Regions from separate parts of the Homo sapiens genome. Here regions 2 and 3 are each linked to region 1. Evidence: promoter capture Hi-C in 16 types of primary human blood cells and fetal thymus (Javierre and others, 2016). All regions are on one chromosome and are shown on one strand. The core of a region is centred on a gene start or on the middle of the fragment in contact, and the rest is flanking DNA. Distances in the headings are between cores, read along the strand shown. Region 1 holds the start of ACTL7A (actin like 7A). Region 2 has its middle 9.2 kb from the start of LINC01509. Region 3 overlaps LINC01509 (long intergenic non-protein coding RNA 1509).

What was found. The method cuts DNA at HindIII sites, captures the fragments that hold promoters and counts their contacts. A CHiCAGO score of 5 or more calls a contact.
Region 2: a contact is called between a fragment that was not itself captured here and the fragment with the promoter of ACTL7A in region 1, in 4 of 17 cell types (M0 macrophages, naive B cells, M1 macrophages and 1 more). The highest score is 10.3, in M0 macrophages.
Region 3: a fragment that was not itself captured here is called in contact with the fragment with the promoter of ACTL7A in region 1 in 4 of 17 cell types (monocytes, M1 macrophages, M0 macrophages and 1 more); the score reaches 8.5 in monocytes.

What each region holds. Positions count from the first base shown.
Region 1 is chr9:108,860,816-108,863,515 of GRCh38, forward strand. It overlaps ACTL7A (actin like 7A), which reads left to right and starts at 1,451. Exons shown (of 1, transcript NM_006687.4): 1 at 1,451-2,700. The coding sequence starts at 1,508. The HindIII fragment of the contact is 6,848 bases long and covers 1-2,700 here.
Region 2 is chr9:107,474,444-107,477,143 of GRCh38, forward strand. It overlaps the pseudogene RNU6-492P. Among named protein-coding and RNA genes, the nearest start is that of LINC01509, 9.2 kb to the left of the region's middle. The HindIII fragment of the contact is 665 bases long and covers 1,053-1,717 here.
Region 3 is chr9:107,443,967-107,446,666 of GRCh38, forward strand. LINC01509 (long intergenic non-protein coding RNA 1509) reads right to left here. Exons shown (of 8, transcript NR_121581.1): 4 at 2,514-2,602. Among named protein-coding and RNA genes, the nearest start is that of LINC01509, 21 kb to the right of the region's middle. The HindIII fragment of the contact is 545 bases long and covers 1,025-1,569 here.

The DNA.
Region 1 (2,700 bases), core at 201-2,700:
GTCCTTGGGATGACACCTTGCTGCCCCCATCAGATAGTCACCACAAACCTCATGAGACTGGACTTGGTCCTTTTCTTCTCTCATACCCAACAAGGAACTGAGAGCAACTCCCGTAGCCTCTCTAAAGGAGAAAGCCCATTATTGTGGTGACTGCCTCTTTTATGAAGGGCTGGGATCAGGTTCAGGGTGTGGCATAACATAAGGTTGGATTCTGCCCTGAGTGTGGCAGGCATCCACACCAATGTGTCCAGCTTCAGAAATGGCATGCAAGATGGTGGCCAAACAGCCTAAGAGTTGCACGCTAGGTCCCATCAAGCTGTGTCCCAGCACATCCTGGGGAGGAAGCCACAGTCAGGAGAGCTTGGCTACTCCTGGTTGGATATCCTTGGGTGAGCTATGCACCTAAAAGCCTCAGTGTTGTCAGTGGGATTTTGTAGAGTCTAATTTCACTGTCTAGCCAATGACCCTGATGAAGGCACAGTAAGTGTACACATGTATATCCAAAAATAATTCCCCTTAAGGTTGTTCTAAGGGTCACCCTTAGTGCCCTTAGTCACCATAGCAGCAAAGGATTCCCACTAACATCTAAATCAGATGGTGTCAGTGCTCTGTGCCAAATCCTCTAGTGCTTTCTGACCTTACCCACGATCCTTGCATTGGCCTATGAGGCCTACCATGAGCTGCTTGCCTTCCCCCACCCCATCTCATCTACTTTTCCTTACTCCTTCTATGCCAGCCACACTTTTCTTCCTGCTCCTCCTTTAACTCGAGAGGTCGGCAAACTTTTTAAGGGTCAGTCAGTATTTACTTTCTTTCAGCTTTTTGGGCAATGCAGTCTTCAATGCTGTGACTCAGCTCTACTGTTGTACTGCAATGGCAGTCACGGACAATACGTACATGAATGAGCACGGCTGTATTCCTATCCAACAAGCCGGGGACCGGATTGGACTGCAGCCTGCTGACCCCTGATCTAACTCTTCAGTCACACATCTGCCTCCAGTCCTCTGCACCTGCTGCTCCCCTGACATACACATGGCTCTCTCCCTCACCTCCTGCAGGTCTTCATTCAAATGTCACCCTCTCAGGAAGCCCTGCCCAGGCCACACTAGCACTGCCACCCTGCTTTTGCTCTTAACGCTCATTTTGGTTATTGTCTGTCACCCCCACCCGCCACCGACTAGAATAAGGGATTTTGTCTGTTTTTTTCACCAGCGAATTCCCAGCTGCCTTGTATATAGCAGACATTCAAGAAATATTAATTAATTGAATAAATCAGTCTTGTTACGAAATTTAGGAAAAGGGGAGCCATTTCAAAAACAATATCCCAAATGTACCCTAACACAGGATAAGGGTTTGCAATATCTAGAAAGCCCAGGTCACCAGATTACATCATAATTAGTGATGTCACTGTTGGGAAAATTCTCAGGGTATCCTCTGATGTAGGCCTTTCAGGCCTTGAATCCAGTGGGATTGAGAACTTTCTAAGAGTGGTGCGGCTCTTGACAACATGTGGGCTCCACCAGCAGCAATCATGGGGGATGGGCCCACCAAGAAGGTGGGCAACCAGGCCCCCCTGCAGACACAGGCCCTCCAGACTGCCTCTTTAAGGGATGGCCCGGCGAAGCGGGCCGTGTGGGTCCGCCATACGAGTTCAGAGCCACAAGAACCTACTGAATCAAAGGCAGCCAAGGAGAGGCCCAAGCAGGAGGTGACCAAAGCAGTGGTCGTGGACCTGGGCACTGGCTACTGTAAATGTGGCTTTGCCGGCCTGCCAAGACCCACCCACAAGATCTCAACAACGGTGGGCAAGCCCTACATGGAGACCGCCAAGACTGGGGATAATCGCAAGGAGACATTCGTGGGGCAGGAACTCAACAACACAAACGTTCATCTCAAGCTGGTTAACCCTCTGCGACATGGCATCATCGTGGACTGGGATACAGTGCAGGATATCTGGGAATATCTCTTCCGACAAGAGATGAAGATCGCCCCGGAGGAGCATGCGGTCTTGGTTTCAGACCCGCCACTGAGCCCACACACCAACAGAGAGAAATATGCTGAAATGCTGTTTGAAGCCTTCAACACCCCTGCAATGCACATCGCCTACCAGTCGCGCCTGTCCATGTACTCCTATGGAAGGACCTCCGGCCTGGTGGTGGAGGTGGGCCATGGCGTGTCCTACGTGGTCCCCATCTACGAGGGTTATCCTTTGCCCAGCATCACCGGAAGGCTGGACTACGCGGGCTCTGACCTGACAGCCTACCTGCTGGGCCTGCTGAACAGTGCGGGGAACGAATTCACCCAGGACCAGATGGGCATCGTGGAGGACATCAAGAAGAAATGCTGCTTTGTGGCCCTGGATCCCATTGAGGAGAAGAAAGTCCCTCTCAGTGAGCATACGATCCGCTACGTGCTGCCGGATGGGAAGGAGATTCAGCTGTGCCAGGAACGGTTCCTCTGCTCGGAGATGTTCTTCAAGCCATCTCTCATCAAGTCCATGCAGCTGGGCCTCCACACCCAAACCGTGTCCTGCCTTAACAAGTGTGACATCGCCCTCAAACGGGACCTCATGGGGAACATCCTGCTCTGCGGGGGCAGCACGATGCTCAGTGGCTTCCCTAACCGTCTGCAGAAGGAGCTAAGCAGCATGTGTCCCAATGACACCCCGCAGGTAAACGTGCTGCCTGAAAGAGACAGTGC
Region 2 (2,700 bases), core at 135-2,634, 1.4 Mb before region 1:
TTCTCTCTAGAGGGAACACAGTGACCAGTGAGTAGTCCTGTCCTAGCTGGCCGGTAACAGAGCACTATACAGAAGGATGATAAAGCACAGTAAAATACTTTTTTGGATGTTAGAGCACAACATTACATTGAATTTAGAACTTTCCAGGGCCAGGCACTGTGGCTCATGCCTGTAATCCTAGCACTTTGAGAGGTCGAGGCCCTTAAGCCCAGGAGTTAGAGACCAGCCTGGGCAACATAGGGATACCCTTGTCTCTACAAAATAATTTTTTAAAAAAATTAGCCAGGTATGGTGGTGCATGTCTGTGGTCTCAGCTACTTGGGGGGCTGAGAGGGAGAATCTCTTGAGCCCAGGCGGTTGAGGCTGCAGTGTGCTGTGATTGCACCACTCAGCCTGGGTGACAGGGTGAGACCTCATCCCCCATCTCAAAAAAAGGAAAAAAAACAAAAAAACAGAACTTTCCTCTGAAAGCCATCTTTTCTGCATGGTGTTTTTTGTTTTGTTGTTGTTTCTTTGTTTGTTTGTTTAGAAACTGATGTTTATTTTCCATCAACCTTATTTCCATGTTGCTTAAGAGCCTGTGCAAGAACAGAAAAATATGGAACACTTCACGAATTTGCATGTCATCCTTGCGCAGGGGCCATGCTAATCTCTGTATTTTTCCAATTTTAGGATATGTGCTGCCGAGGTGAGCATGGTGTTTTTTGTTTGGTTGGTTGGTTGGTTTTGTTTTGTTTTTGAGACAGTCTCACTCTGTCACCCAGGCTGGAGTGCAGTGGCATGATCTCAGCTCACTGCAACCTCTGCCTCCCAGGTTCAAGCAATTATCTTGCCTCAGCCTCCTAAGTAGCTGGGATTACTGGTGCACGACACCATGCCCGGCTAATTTTTGTATTTTCAATAGAGATAGGGCTTCGCCATGTTGGCCACGCCGGTCTGGAACTCCTGATCTGAAGTGATCCACCCACCTTGGCCTCCCAAAGTGTTGGGCTTACAGGCATGAGCCACCACACCCAGCCAGCAAGATGTTTTTGATCATCTTGATTCCTCTAAGCTTCCCTTGGGCTGTTAGGATGAAGCCATGGATGATTGGCCTGTTAAGTAAATCAGATCTAGGTGCTGGTTCCTCAGATGTCAACTTGATGTGACCTTGGGCAAGGTCACAAGTCCTTTATCTGGGTCTTTTCCTTGAGTTAAATGGTCTTGAAGATGCTTTCCTTTTCAAACGTCTTACGTAATTTTATTTTATTTTTGAGACAGGGTCTTGCTCTGTCACCCAGGTTGGAGTGCAGTAAAACAATCATAGCTCACTGCAGCCTCAGCCTCCTGGGCTCAAGGGATCTTCCCACCTCAGCCTCTTGAGGAGCCAGAACCACAGGAACATGCCACCACTCCTGGCTAATTTTGTTATTTTTTTATTTTATTTTTTATTTTTTGGAGAGACAGAGTCTCCCTATATTGACCAGGATGGTTTTGAACTCCTGGTTTCAAGTGATCCTCCCACCTCTGCCTCCCAAAGTATTGGCATTATAGTTGTGAGCTACCTACGTAATTTTACAGCTTCAGTCCTTGCAATGTTACCCATTCCTAGGTGAGGCGGTAACAGTGCCTCAAAGGCAGGGCAATGGTCAATTCCGCGCACTGTCAGAGTGAGTTTATTTAGATGTATTCAGAGGTCAGAAAACTACTGTCATCCAGGCAAACTAGAAGAGTCTCAAGCTTGAATTGGAGCAAACCAAATGGGAGGGTTTCACAGCACCCAAAGCTAAACCTTCCTGTTTGGGCAGACTGGCCCACTCAATATCCTAGAGTAGAAAGTACCCTCTTTTAGCTGGTATGGTGGCTCACGCCTATAATCGCAGCACTTTGGGAGGCCGAGGCGGGTGGATCATGAGGTCAGGAAAGTACCCTCTTTTAGCTTTTATTTTATTTTATTATTATTTTTTTGAGATGGAGTCTCGCTCTGTTGCCCAGGCTGCAGTGCAGTGGCACGATCTTGGCTCACTGCAACCTCCGCCTCCCGGTTTCAAGCGAGTCTCCTGACTCAGCCTCCTGAGTAGCTGGGATTACAGGTGCCCACCACCACGCCCAGGTGATTTTTGTATTTTTAGTAGAGATGGGGTTTCACCATGTTGGTCAGCCTGGTCTTGAACTCCTGACCTCAAGTGATTCACCTGCCTCGGCCTCCCAAAGTGCTGGGATTACAGGCGTGAGCCACCGTGCCTGGCCTAAGCTTTTAAAGTGCAATTTTTTTCTTTTTTTTTTTAGCCTTCATTATTTGTCATATGTCCATGGTACACATACCTTTTTTCTTGAAAGGAGGCCCAATGGGTCATCCAAAAAAAGGATAAAATATCTCCTTTCCCTGCTGGGTGCAGTGGCTCATGCCTGTAATCCCAGCACTTTGGGAGGCTGAGGCAGGTGGATCACGAGGTCAGGAAATCGAGACCATCCAGGCTAACACGGTGAAACCCCGTCTCTACTAAAAATACAAAAAAAATTAGCCAGGCATGGTGGCAGGTGCCTGTAGTCCCAGATACTTGGGAGGCTGAGGCAGGAGAATGGCGTGAACCGGGGAGGTGGAACTTGCAGTGAGCTGAGATGGCACCACTGCACTCCAGCCTGGGCAACTGAGCAAGACTCTGTCTCAAAAAAAAAAAAATCTCCTTTCCCCAAATTTTGGCATCCTGGAGGACATGC
Region 3 (2,700 bases), core at 47-2,546, 1.4 Mb before region 1:
GAGCTATGACCATGCCTGTGAATAGCCACAGCACTACAGCCTGGGCAACGTAGCAAGATCCCATCTCTTAATTTTAAAAAACCCTCTGAAAAATAAAGACATTATATTTTTCTTGTGAATCATGTATAAGATGATGAATCAAGTATCATTCCTTTTCTTCATCTTAAAACAACCTCTTTCTCATCTGTCTTGCAGTGAGCTCTTCTCCAGAAGTTGGAGTTAAATCTTAGGGTTTCTGCAGCACCGTGTGTTGCTGAGTGCTGGCGCACACCTGTAATCCCAGATACACCTTGCATGGAGTGACTTATTCACATGTAGGTTCTCCCTGCTGGAATCGATCCTTTTGAGAACAGAGACACATCCTTTATCTCCAACGTTGCCAGAGCCTGGCACAGTGGTGCTGCTCAAGCAGGAGCTGTTGAATGTCTGAAGGAAAGAAATTGTTTCTTGATTTTGATCATACATCTCTCCTCTCAGGCTTTGCCCTTCGAAACCCCAAAGCCCTAATATCCTCCGTGAGCTGCCTGTGTGTGCTGTACCTCGCAGCATCTCAAAAGAGGCCTAAAGCCACATTCTGTAGTCAGGGTGTGTGTATGCATGTGGGTAAAGATGCACAAACACGCACTCCGGTTATTCTGGTTACACAGCATCGCACTGAAAACCCCACAGTATCAGGCTGTTCTCATTTAAGTGCTTAAAAACAACAACCCCTTCCATTCACTCAAAAGTGCTTCATGATTTCCAAAGTGCTTCCACGTCCATTCACTCAGCTCAAAACTCACGGCCACCTTAGGAGGTGAGTAGGGCTCATTCCTTTCATTTTACAAATAGGGAAACCGAAGCTCAGAGAGGGAAACTATTTTGGCCAAACTCAAACAGCTCCACGTCTTCCAGTCCCAAAGTCAGAGACTTCCTGGCACATAGTGACGGGTTGGTATAGGAAACTACATGGTGCTTAGTTTCTGTCCAGGGATGAAGTTGCATTGCTCTCATGCCCTGGCTTGTTACTAAGACTGGGGTCAGAAGCTTGTTTCTCAGGCTGAGCTGAATGGGAAATAAAAACTTCACAGTAGAAAAGCAGTGCTCCGGCCGGGCGCGGTGGCTCATGCCTGTAATCCCAGCACTTTGGGAGGCTGAGGTGGGTGAATCACAACGTCAAGAGTTCAAGACTAGCCCGGCCAACATGATGAAACCCTGTCTCTACTGAAAATACAATAAATTAGCCAGGTGTAGTGGTGGGTGCCTGTAATCCCAGCTACTCAGGAGGCTGAGGCAGGAGAATCACTTGAACCCGGGAGGCGGAGGTTGCAGTAAGCTGAGATCACGCCACTGCACTCCAGCCTAGACGACGGAGCTAGACTCCATCTGAAAAAAAAAGAAAAGAAAGAAAGCAGTGCTCCATGTCTTGCAAGTTCAACAACTGTAGCTCTTCAGAGCCTCCACTCAGTATGGCTTTATAGTAGGCAGTCTTATTTCTGAATTAACTTAGCTATGTGTCCTTCCTCCAACGATTCGCAGAGGAGACACCTGACCCAGCCTGGGGTAGGAGTGCTGGGTATTGGTAAGAGAAGCTTCTAGAGGAATGAAAGCCTGAGCTACTCAGCTCAAGGATGAGTGGCCATTAGCCAGGCATGGGGTACAGTGAGTGAGGATACACAGAGGTCAGGCAGGGAGAAGGACATTAACCTAGGGAAAGAGCTTAAGTGAAGATAGACTTCATGTCTACACATCCACCTTCATGATTTTCACTCCATAAGATTGCCACCTATACGATATTTATGTAATATTCGTATTGGACTATATTTAAAATTTAAATATAATTAAATAAAAAAGACATAGTAGGTTGGGTGTGGTGGCTCACTCCTGTAATCCCGACACTTTGGGAGGCCGAGGTGATGGATCACCTGAGGTCAGGAGTTCAAGACCAGCCTAACCAACATGGAGAAACCCCATCTCTACTAAAGCCAGGTGTGGTGGCGGGCATCTGTAATCCTCAGGAGTCTGAGGCAGGAGAATTGCTTGAACCCAGGAGGCGGAGGTTGCTGTGAGCCGAGATCACGCCACTGCACTCCAGCCTGGGCGACAAGAGCAAAACATCGTCTCAAAAAAAAAAACAAAAACAAACAAAAAAACCCACATAGCACATCATGGGTTTGCTTGCTGCTTTTTTCTAATATACATTAAAATAAATACCTAGCTGGGCACGGTAGCTCACTCCTGTAATCCTAGCACTTTGGGAGGCCGAGGCAGGAGGATCACCTGAGGTCAGGAGTTTGAGACCAGTCTGACCAGCATGGAGAAACCCCATCTCTACTAAAAATACAAAATTAGCCAGGCATGGTGGCGGGCGCCTGAAATCCCAGCTACTTAGGAGGCTGAGGCAGGAGAATTGCTTGAACCCAGGAGGCAGAGTTTGCAGTGAGCCGAGATTGCACCATTGCACTCCAGCCTGGGTGACAAGAGTGAAACGCCATCTCAAAAATAAATGAATAAATAAATAAATAAATAAATACCTAATTATTCAAGTGAAAAAACAGTCATCCTTTTATTCCCACAAAATCCTCTGGTATATCCAGGTAGAATGAGTACCACATTTGGGAATCTGTAAACAAAGGCACAGCGATGAGTAAGAGTGTGGGGGTGATGGGGCTGTTGAGAAAGCAGCGGGAAACGGCAAGAGGGTGGGCAGGAGTGGTGGCT